Linked DNA regions of Homo sapiens: region 2 is linked to region 1. Evidence: promoter capture Hi-C in human tissues and cell types (Jung and others, 2019). All regions are on one chromosome and are shown on one strand. Each heading gives the region's core, a stretch centred on a gene start or on the middle of the fragment in contact. The rest is flanking DNA. Distances are from core to core; before and after follow the strand shown.

What was found. Contacts are between HindIII fragments. The study calls those that stand out against the background at their distance.
Region 2: a contact is called between a fragment that was not itself captured here and the fragment with the promoter of PDC in region 1, in 1 of the 25 tissues and cell types used here (dorsolateral prefrontal cortex).

What each region holds. Positions count from the first base shown.
Region 1 is chr1:186,458,254-186,464,368 of GRCh38, reverse strand. PDC (phosducin) reads left to right here and starts at 3,255. Exons shown (of 4, transcript NM_002597.5): 1 at 3,255-3,310. The region is part of intron 3 of PDC-AS1 (PDC antisense RNA 1); the gene reads right to left. The HindIII fragment of the contact is 6,595 bases long and covers 833-6,115 here.
Region 2 is chr1:186,910,103-186,916,217 of GRCh38, reverse strand. It overlaps PLA2G4A (phospholipase A2 group IVA), which reads right to left. Exons shown (of 18, transcript NM_024420.3): 7 at 4,829-4,970. Among named protein-coding and RNA genes, the nearest start is that of PLA2G4A, 84 kb to the right of the region's middle. The HindIII fragment of the contact is 6,671 bases long and covers 1-6,115 here.

The sequences.
Region 1 (6,115 bases), core at 2,006-4,505:
ATTACAGGACTATCTCATTCTGGTAAGTCTTTTCAGCAGTATGGTCTTGTTTCCAAACATGCCCTTCCAGCTCTAAATTTAATTCTGCTATTTGAAGACTGAGGGACATGTTTTCAAGTTCAAAGTAAGGAAAGGTTTATTTTTAGTAAAAACGATGTCTGCCACAGCGCCTGCTTCATTTACACCCTTTATTACTAAAAGTTCCCCAGCCCCTACTGAAAGGGAGCCCTATGTAGATCACATAACCTTGCCATCTGGCTAAAGCTGATTAGACCAAGGGTGTGACCTTGGCCAAATTATGCCAATGGCATAATGAAGCAAAATGGTTTCGGCTAAACAAATCATATTCTCCCAGAATACTCATTTGGAAACATGGAAATAGCCAAGCTGTTATCAATAGATGGGAGGCTTAAAAAACTTCTATAGATAGGTGTCTTGAGTAGAGTCAAGGCCATGAGGGGGGTTATGGAAAACAGAACAAATAAGAAAATATATATTGAGGAAGCACAGGCTGTAAAGTAAAGGTGATATGGAAGGCCTTAGGAAGAGTATTAACTAGTGACAGAAGATCAGCCACGGCGGGAGGAGCAGGGTTGGGGGCAGGCAGTGCATGCGGTTAGTGGGATGGAAAGCCGCAATCTTGGTATTTGAGCCCTACTGGGAAGATCAACAGACCCCTCCCAGCTGCTAAGGTGTTTACTCCAGCATTGTATCCTCCAAGATTTTGAGCTGACATTCCATTCTCCTAGGACTAGAGTGTATAGCTGTCCTTGAACTCCTAAGGAATTCATGGTTTTCTTTCAATTCTGTCCTTACAATTAACTTTCTCACGCTCAAAAAGAAAAAAAAAAAGAGCAAGTAGATATATATGACAGCCTTGGAACCAGAAGAATCTACACTGAAGGCTGTTTAGGATTTAAAGAAAATTCTGTAATTTCATCTTTTTAGAGCAGGTAATTTAATCTGCCCTAAACAGGAGACTTTACTGGTTAACAGTGTGGACCATGGAATTAAGTCATACCTGAATTCGAACGCTGGGGTCTGCATGGACATAATGTCAACATTTGAAACATAAAAACTGTTTTCTTGCTGCTGTATATAGAAGTACCTTGTCCACAGAAGAGTGCTTTCACACAGTAGGCATTCCACTAATATTGGGGAATAAATGCATCAGTTAGATAAGTTATAAAACTTATCCAAGCCTGTCTCCTCATCTATAAAATTATACTTGACCTACCTCAGGGGATTGTTGTAAAGATTATGCGAAGTAAACAATTAGTACCTGACCTGGCATGATGAGCACTCAGAAAGTGTCCTAATTATTAATATTTTTATTTCTGTTTTCTAAGATTATTTTCAGCTGGTTTATAATGTTTGTGCCTTGTAAAGTATTTAGTATTCTTAAAATTGGATGTAAAATCATATATAAAAATCTAAACACTATATCAACATATAATTCTAATACTTTTAAATGTTTTTACATCAATCAAGAATCATATGTGTGAAATAATGACCTTTTGGGCTTTGACTCTTGACAAGTTTTCATGATCTACAAAAATTACTCAATTCATAATTGAAGCAATTAGATCAGATATGCTTGTCCAAATTGTAGGCAAGTGTGTGATGTCCGTAATGACCCCAAATCCCTCCAGTGAACAGGTGCCAGAGATAGCACAAAATAAAAAGCAAATTATGGAAATATCTGTGTTGGGAAGGTGGGGGTAGGATAGGAATTGCTATAGTAATTTTTTTTTTACCGTTAAGTCTCTATGCTTGTGCCTATATTACATATTTGAACATATGAGTACCAAGCTATATTTGACAGTAACTTAAAACATATTTTTTGAATGTTAAAACCACTATGACATTTTTTATCATCAAACTGAAATATTAAATTTCTTCACATTTGCCATCAGAAGGCATCTTTTAAGTTACATTTGTATTGCACCTGACTACATTCTAGATTCTTTAGCTAGAGAGAAAACACTCAGTTCATAAAAACTGAAAGTGAATTGCCCTGAGAAACTCTGTTGAAAAGCATATGTATAGCACACAAACTGGAACATGAAACCTGCTAAATGGGAGGTAAAAATTTGATTTAAGGATGAAAATGAAAGTTAATTTAGAAAATACTTTGATTTCTGGAAGAATCTCTTTGAAAATATTTATGGTTGTGACTCTCTTAAATATTGTAAATTTTATGTACTCTTCTCTATTCTTGAAATCAAATTCTACAATAAAAAATATATAAGCAAACAAAGTTCTGAAATGTGACAGGTTTCCCTCTTACTAACAAAGAGTAAATAAATGACAAATTAATTTAGTATAATAAAACATAACTATTAAAATTTATTTAGACACTATCACTGTTTAAATTGCATTAAGATCCACTTAAAGTTTCTGGGTGAAGCTACATATGACTAAACCTTATAATTTAAAAATCTAAATGTGTTCATTTTAATTGCCATTAATATTAAAAATTTTGTCCTCTTGCTAATTAAAAATTTCCAGTTTTAAGCTTAGAGTAAATTAAATCTCCTACTTTGGCAAAGTTAGATGAGAATTTGGCTGTGAGGATGAAAGATGTTAGGAAAAGATGGAAGATTAAACACATGCATCTACTTCCCCTACATCTCAAAACTCCATTAAAAAACAGCAGGAAAGGAATTTTTAATGGTAAAAACCAGAAACAATAAGGAGAAGTGAAAAGGAGAAAATGCCAATAAAACTAGAATCCAGAAAGCAAGTAGATCTGTAAAGACAGCCCATCTGAAAAAATTGTATTAAAAGCCTGTAGTAAGAGAAGATGAAAATCATAGTATCTCTCTTATTCCTCCCAATGTTGTAGTAATCATAGCACTTCATTGTGATTATCTTTTTACTTACCTGTCTCCCCCACTAGACTGCAAGCCTCACGATATAGGAAATAGGGTTTATTTGTCTTTGTACCCTAGTGCCTAGCTACTGCTTGTTTCACACAAAGTAGGTGCTCAGTAGATGATTATGGGACTAATGAATACAACTCATGTTATTGCGATAAATAGTACTAATAATGACCTCTGTCTCTCATCTATTCAATGTGTTCTGTAAAATATAAACTGACTACTCTTTGTTTGGTTTTGCCTTATTATTAATGAACTGGCCTTGCTAATTCTGTCAATCCTATTACTTGTTCAGAGCTATTTCTGCAAGGGTCATCAATATCTGGAGATTTTAAATCTGAGCTTAAACCTATTGAAGTTCAAGACGAGTTCAGTAGACAGGGATTCTCACCCACTCAACAAGGACACCAGGCACAGAGATCCAAACTGTGAGTCCACAAGTAGTCCTTTTGATAATATAATTTTAAAAATTTTACCTTAGGGGAAAGAATGGTGATTCACTGTTTATGTATTATTGTGTTAATGTAAAATAGTTCAAAGTACATAAGGTTTTGAATTATCTACTATAAAGACAATTAAATACAGCGTATCCTTCTCTCTTTCAGTGATTTCCACCAGTCATCTTCACTAATACAGATTCAGAGTAAACACGCAATTTTGAGCCTGATATTCTAGACTGTTAAAATAAGACCATGAATGGAGAACTCATTTTGCAATTTTAAATTTCCTTTGAGTGAAGGGAGAACTAAAGAGAATAAATGATGAGTCCTTGCACTTTATGTTTGAAGATCTGGCTCCCAAGTTGGAAAAGGAGTGCGGTAGTTGCCCCTTATCCAAGGGGGATATGTTCCAGGACCCCCACTGGATGCCTAAAACCATAGATAAAACTGAACCTTGTGTGTATACTATGTTGTTTTCCTGAACATACATACCTGTGATAAAGTTTAATTTATAAATTAGACACAGTCAGAGGTTAACCATAATCACTAATAATAAAATAGAACCTTTATAACAATATGCTACCATCACAACACTTGCGCTTTGGGACCTTATTAAGTAAATAAGGGTTACTTGAACACAAGCACTGCAATAGTCAATCTGATAACCAAGACAGTAATGCATATGGTGTGGATATGGTATACAAAGAGATGTTTCATGTTCCAGGCCAGAGAGAGCAGGATAGTGTGAGATTTCATCAAGCTACTCAGTACACTGCAAATCTAAAACTTGCAAATTGTTTATCTCTGGAATTTTTCATCTAATATTTTTGGACCAAGGTTGACCAAGGGTAACTGTAATCACAGAAAGAAAAACCTCAGATAAGTGAGGACTGCTGTATTCATCCGGCGCTAAGGCATGTTTTGAGGCTTTTCCTTAGTAGTATGTTGTTGTGGCGGTGGTTTGTTGGTGGTTTTTAATTTTTAAAGTAGAAATAATGTTTGTTTTGAAAGGTTACTTTAGAAATTTAATGAAACAGAAATAATGTTTTTAAAAGAAAAGAACACAGAGTTTGTTGATATTTCTTAAATTCAGTGAAAATTTTCTTTCAATTGGTTTTTTTTTTTCTATTTTGTTTCCATGGAGGTTATTATTATTACTAATAAACCTTACAGTTTGCATCATGAAAATGAGTGCAGTAATTGATTTGCAATGGAGTATTTTTATTAACTGCAAAAATAGCTTCTAACTATAGAGTCCATTTTAAATATATATATATATATATATATATATATACACACACACACATATTGTCCATTGTACCTGCTACTTAGAATCACCTCATATTAAAGCTAGAAAAAACTTTAGAGATCATCTAATTCATCATGACAATTTCTGCCCAAATACTATGTTTATAAGTGGATTTGATATTATATAAGTCATTATCAAAATATATATGAACCATTCATAATAATGTCTGTAATGGAATTCAAACAATATGTACAGGAATATGTATATTTACAAGATAAACAGATACTTTAAAAAAGATGGCTGTTATGAATTTCTAAAATTCTATTTTCTCCAGAACAAGTAAAAGAATATCTGTATGTCTGCAATCCCGGCACCTCGGGAGGCCAAGGCTGGCGGATCACTCGCGGTTAGGGGCTGGAGACCCGGCCAACACAGCGAAACCCCGTCTCCACCAAAACCAGTCAGGCGTGGCGGCGCGTGCCTGCAATCGCAGGCACTCGGCAGGCTTAGAGCTTGTTAAAGATTCCTGGGTCCCACTTCAGATCTGCAAAGCAGGATCTTAGAATCTAGGGCCTGAAAAGGAGGAAGGGTCCTGGTAAATATCCCCAGGCTTTCTTTTTCTTTTTTTCTTTTTTTGAGTTGGAGTCTCATTCTGTCCCCCAGGCTGGAGTGCAGTGGCGAGATGTCGGCTCACTGCAACCTGCGCCTCCCAGGTTCAAGCGATTCTCCTGCGTCAGCCTCCGGAGTATCTGGGACTACAGGCACCCACCACCACGCCCGGTTAATTTTTGTACTTTTTGTAGAGATGGGGTTTTGCCATGTTGCCCAGGCTGGTCTTGAATTCCTGCGCTCAAGTGATCCACCTGCCTTGGCCTCTCAAAGCGTTGGGATTACAGGCGTGAGCCACCGCGCGCAGCCTCTCCAGGCTTTCAGCTGGGACCATGAAGGGCTCCACTCTTTGTGGTGATGATCAGAGGGGCGTATGCCCTCCATAACACTCCCATTCTTCATCTTTTCTCATATTCCAGGAGACTGGCCCAAACAGGACTGTTGAGTGGCTCTAAGGCTTTTAGACGTCAAAAGGGTTTATAAGAATAATCATCATAATATAGTTATGAATCAGAAACATGCATACATTTTCTTAAATGACCCTGTGGGGACTGGAGTTAAAAAGGGAGGAGTACCCAGATGCAGGCGTCTAGCAGAATGGACTTGCTTGAGAATATCAAGCAAGACAGCCAAAGAGGACTCCTAGGATTGTCTCACCAGGACTTCTGAGGCGACTCTAATGAAATGACTTAAAAGTGTGGTGGAGTGGCTTCTGTGGCTCCCACACCTGCCTAATCCTGGTTGATATTGCACAACCAGCGTGCACTGACAATCTCTGGGAAAAAAGCAAGGTCTAATATTCAAAGCTTGGCAAACATGACCAAGACTTTTTCTCTTTCCTTTGAATTATTTTAGTTCCCTAATTTTTTGTCCCAGATGCCACTTAATTCTTTTTATTTTGTATTAAAAGTTGTGCTCTTGTCTCAACCTTCTTT
Region 2 (6,115 bases), core at 1,899-4,398, 450 kb before region 1:
GCCAGACTGGATCCTCGAGTAAATATCTTGGTTCGAGGAGGAGAAGTTTACGAACGCTCTCCTGAGCCAGTGTTTCAAACTTTCTATGATGAACTAAATGTGCCAGTACCAGAAATTCCAGGAAAAACAAGAAATTTGTTTTTGCAACTAGCCGAGTGTGTAGCCCAGCCTCTCAATGTCACTTCATGTTATGTCTGTGGAGGAACCGTAACAGGATATCAATGGCCATGGAAAGCCCGAGAATTAGTACCTGTAGACCCAGTTCCTGATGAATTCCTGGCTCAAAAGAATTACCCTGATAATTTCTGGGTCCTAAAACCCTCAATTACTGGACAATATTGCATAGCTAGAGAAGGAAAAAAATTCACTCACCCCGTAGGATGACTTAGTTGTCTGGGACAGAAACTGTATAATGGTACCACAAAAACAGTCACTTGGTGGAGCTCAAATCACACAGAGAGGAATCCATTTAGTAAATTTCCAAAGCTGCAAATCGTGTGGACCCACCCGGAGTCCCACTGGGACTGGACAGCCCCCACGGCATTATACTGGATATGTGGGCATACAGCTTCCAATAATACAACTACCAGTGGGCAGGTAGTTGTGTTATTGAAACTATTAAACCATCTTTCTTCCTACTGCCCATAAAAACAGGCAAATTCCTGGGCTTCCCTGTCTATGCTTTCCGTGAAAAGAGAAGCATAGCTATAAAAAATTAGAAAGATAATGAATGGCCCCCTGAGAGAATCATACAATATTATGGGCCTGCTACTTGGGCACAAGTTGGCTCGTGGGGATACTGGACCCCCATTTACATGATCAACCGAATCATACAGTTACAAGCTGTCTTAGAAATAATCACTAATAAAACCGGCAGAGCCTTGACTATTCTGGCCCGGCAAGAAACTCAGATGAGAAATGCTATCTGTCAAAATAGATTGGCCCTTGACTACTTGCTAGCAGCTGAAGGAGGGGTCTGTGGGAAATTTAACCTTACTAATTGCTGTCTACACATAGATGATCAAGGGCAAGTAGTTGAAGACATAGTTAGAGATATGACAAAACTGGCACACATGCCCGTGCAAGTGTGGCATGGATTTGATCCTGGGGCCATGTTTGGAAAATGGTTCCCAGCACTAGGAGGATTTAAAACTCTTATAATAAGAGTTATAATAGTAATAGGAACCTGCTTACTGCTCCCTTGTTTGCTACCTGTACTTCTTCAAATGATAAAAAGCTTCATCGCTACTTTAGTTCACCAAAATGCTTCAGCACAAGTGTACTATATGAATCACTATTGATCCGTCTTGCAAGAAGACATGGGTAGTAAAAATGAAAGTGAGAACTCCCACTATTGAGTGAGAGTCTCAAATGGGGAGGATATAAGGGAGGAGACCACCCCTCATATTGTCTTATGCCCAATTTCTACCTCCAAAGAAAGAAGAAGTAAAAACTAAAAGGCAGAAATGAAATCCACAAGCAGACAGCCCAGCACCACACCCTGGGCCTGGTAGTTAAACATCAACCCCTGACCTAATCAGTTATGTTATCTATAGATTACAGATATTGCATAGAAAAGCACTGTGAAAATCCCTGTCCTATTCTGTTCTGTTCTAATTACTGGTGCATGCAGCCCCCAGTCATGTACCCCCTGCTTGCTCAAATGATCACGACCCTCTCAAGCTGACCCCCTTAGAGTTGTGAGCCCTTAAAAGGGATAGGAATTACTCACTCAGGGAGCTCGGCTCTTGAGACAGGAGTCTTGCCGATGCTCCCGGCCAAACAAACCCCTTCCTTCTTTAACTCGGTGTCTGAGGGGTTTTTGTCTGTGGCTTGTCCTGCTACACTAGCACTTTGGCAGGCAGAGGTGGAAGTGTTGCTTGAGCTCAGGAGTTTGAGACCAACCTGGGCAATATAGCAAGATCCCCATCTCTAGAAAGAAAAAAACATATATATATAAATTTTCTGGGTGTAGTGGCATGCACGCATAGTCCTGGCTACTTAGGAGACTGAGGCAAGAGGATCACTTAAGCCCAGGAGTTTGATGATGCAGTGAGCTATGATTGTGCTACTGCACTCCTGCCTGGGCAACAAAGCAAAACCCTGTCTCAAAAAAAAAACACAAAAAAACAAAACAAAACAAAAGATGCAGGATTGAAGAGAAGCCTCTCTTTTTAAAATAAACTTTAATGAAGGTTTCCTTAGTTTCCTTTAAGCAAAAATTCCCCTTAAGCAGCATCTCATCTTAGAGTCTGCTCCCATAACAACACAAGTCACTATAGCATCAGTAGGTTGGCTTTTGAACCCTACCCCCACCTAAAACATATTTGCAAATCTGCAACCACATGTGGGACAGGGGTGATCATTTGGCTCCCTTACTCAGAATTTATGTCTCATTTCCAACTGTATCCTGCCCTTAATTTGCAATAATCTCAAATTCCTACAAGAATGAATTCCAAGAAATTAATTTATTTATGAAATTATTTTATGAAAAACTTAATGAAATTAATTCCTACGAGAAATAATTCAAGAGTGTACAAGACTATGCACATATATGTTTACTTATGTATTTAAAATATTATTTTTATGAAAATAAATTATATTCATTTGACATATTCAATTAACAAGAAAGCTCAACTAAATAAATAAGTAAATAATTACCTGATACGTCACTAACAAGAAACTTCATTATCATTTGATGAGCATCATTGTGGCAATTAATCTTTGTAGATTTCAGATAGAAAGATGGACAGATATATAAAGAGAGAAATAGATAAGCAGATTAGATAGGTGATTGATGGATACATAGATGAAATAAATGAATGGATAGATAGCCAAAAAGTAGATTTTAAGATATATGATTGAGTAATAAAGGATATTACATTTTACTGGAATTTAAGGAAAGAAAAAAACTATAATTGAAGGATTTTACTTTCAATATTTGTTTATATTTATATTCCAGTATTTCTCCATAATTAGGATTATAAATCATTTCTTCAACTTAATGATTTTTATAATCCTAATTATAGAGAAATATAGAATACAAATATATTATAAACAAATATTGAAAGTACGATCCTTCAATTTGGTCAATTTTAAATATTGTTTAACTCTACTACAAAATATAAAGAATTTGGAATATTTTCTTTTTTCTCCCCATCACATTTGCCTGCATTTATTAATTCCATTATCATTAACAAGATTTATGGCATTTTCTTCTTGTTCGATAATGATGATTTCCACAGTTTAATTTTAGCCTACATTTAAATTAAGTAATTTTAATCCTTTTATATTTGAGGCTAAACTTTTCCTATTGATAAAATCAACACTCCTTTATGCGTAAGTATGCCTTATATATATATTATATACAAATACATACATACACTTATATTAGATACATATATATGTATATATATATATACATATATATATAAGTATACATATATATATACTTATGTATATATATACATATATATGTATATATATGTATATATAAATATACATATATATGAATAAGTAAATAAAATGTGGTACATCCAGACAATGGAATATTATTTAGTACTAAAATGAAATGTGCTATCCAAACCATGAAAAGACATGGAGGAAACTTATATTCGTATTACTAAGTGAAAGAAGCCTATCTGGAAAGGCTACATACTGTATGATTCCAACTATACTACATTAGGCAAACTAACAAAAGGCAAAGCTATGGAGACAGTAAAAGTATCAGTGGTGCAGGGGTAGGGAGGAGAGATGATAGGTGGAGCACAGAGGATTTCTAGGACAGTGAACTACTGTGTATGATACTATAATGGTGGATGCATGTCATTACACATTTGTCCAAACCCCATAAAATGTAGACCACCAACAGTGAGCCTAGCGTAAACTATGGACTTGGATGATAATGATGTGTCAATGTGGGTTCACTGATTGTAACAAATGTACCACTCTGGTGTGGGATGTTGATAGTTAGGGAGTATAATGGTTAATTTTCTTTATTAGCCTGACCAGACTAAAGGATACTCAGATCACTAGAAAAACATTCTTTCTGGGGGTGCTAATGAGGGTGTTTTCCAAAGAAAAACAAGTGAATCAGCACACTGAGTAAAGACCCACCCTTGCCAATGGGTGCGCACATCATTCCATCCTTGGAGGGCCTGAGGAGAACAGAAAGGTGGAAGGTGGGCAATTGTCTCTCTGTCCTTGAACTGAGACATCCCTTTTCTCCTGCCTTTAGACATTGTTGCTCCGGGTTCTCCTACTTTCAGACTTCAAGACTCCCACCTCCCCCTCCAACTGCCCAGCCTCTGACTGGGAGTTACTCCACTGGTGCACCTTTGTCTTGGACTAAATTGCACCACGGGCTTTCCTGGTTCTTCAGCTTGCAGAAAGCATATCGTGGGACTGCTTGGCCTCCATAATCATGTGAGCCAAACTTCATAATAAATCTCCTCATATCTACTGTGTATATCTTTTGGTTCTGTTTCTCTGGAGAACCTGACTAAACTTGGGAGGTTGTGCAGGGAGAAGAAGCATATTGGAACTCTCTGTGCTTTTGGCTCAATTTTATTGTGAACTTAACACTGCTCTAAAATATAAAGTAAAAATAAAACTAAAAACTATAGCTGATAAATATTACCAGCTAGGGCACCATTTGTGATGACCTTCCTCAAAGAGTTTTCATTTACAAATCACTTACCTTACCTTAAAAAACTAAAGGAATAATGCTCAATCTCAATATTGCCATATTTGGGTAAAATTATTGGGGAAATTGTCCAAGCTAAATTATTATTAAAGTATAGTAACACTTGAAAAATTTCCAACTCACATCACGTGCAGAATGCAATCCTTCACTATTCTTTGGACCCAAGAGTTTCTTCATGCTCTCCCTTATGTGTTCTTTTCTCTGTTGTCTGAAAGTCTTCTCCTGATCACACAGAGCCATACTAAATCGTAGGTCTGGGCATGAGCTGTAATACCAAACAGATAAAGTCATGAGCCAGTGCTCCCAGTGGTCTGGTTTTCCATCCAGGTAGCTTTTCCAGGTCCCTAGGAGCTACACTGATATATGCTGACTGCTTCCCTCAAGCCATTTCCTAAGAAGGGACCTAAAATAAGAGGATAAAATGATGGCTATCTTAAAGCAGCATTTTCCACAGCATGTTTTCAGAGAAAAAGGACTTTCCAATGCTTTAGATAAAATAAACGAGCAAACAAACAGCCTCTGATAAGTTGAATATTATAACAAAGACTTGGAAGGGCTTCAGTAAAGAACCCTGTTTATATTTGTTTGGCACAGGATATCCCAAACTTACTTGACCAAGAATTCCTTCCCTTATCTCTCCACCCTTCACTATTCCACCATCATAATTACTTTCTAACATCCCAAAGAGCCAGCATTCTGAGGAACATACTTGCAGAAATATTGTCTTAATTAATTGCCTTGTCTAATGGATGCCCCCCTCTAACAAAGAAAGGAACTTCTAATCACAGAACTTGAGATAACCATAAATGAGTTTACCACTAGAGGACTTTAGAACCCTTAAATTATATATACTTTATCTTGCTAATGAAGGCAGTAGCAATTTCTCTACACTATGCCAGAAGTCACATTAGGTATTACGTATGAATCATTGCAAGAACGATGGGAGTATCACTACATATTATTATACAATATATTATTATATATTGCAGCTTTATAAATTAGAAAACTAATGCCCTGAGAGGTTAGGATCACAGAGTAAACATGTGATGTACTTTCACCATGCAACATATAAGACATATCTTAATACTGAAGTCTAAATACCAACTACTGAATTTAAAAATACTTTTTAAAAATCTGTCAGCCTATGTTGGAGTGTGAATAAATCCAAAAAGCAGAAGTCAAGAATTATCACCAATAAAATATTTGTCTCTTTACCATTCATAAAAATCCTTACCTTAATTGTAAATCAATTTTAAATCTCATTTCTGTTAGTTCAGTATATTTTTTCCTTGTAAAATACAGAAAGAGACCAAGCCTCTGAGCTATGTTCTTTATGGCTATATTTGACCATTACAAATAATAGTTTAATTACTACTTCCCAAAGGACAAATATAGGTACCTCACAAAAGA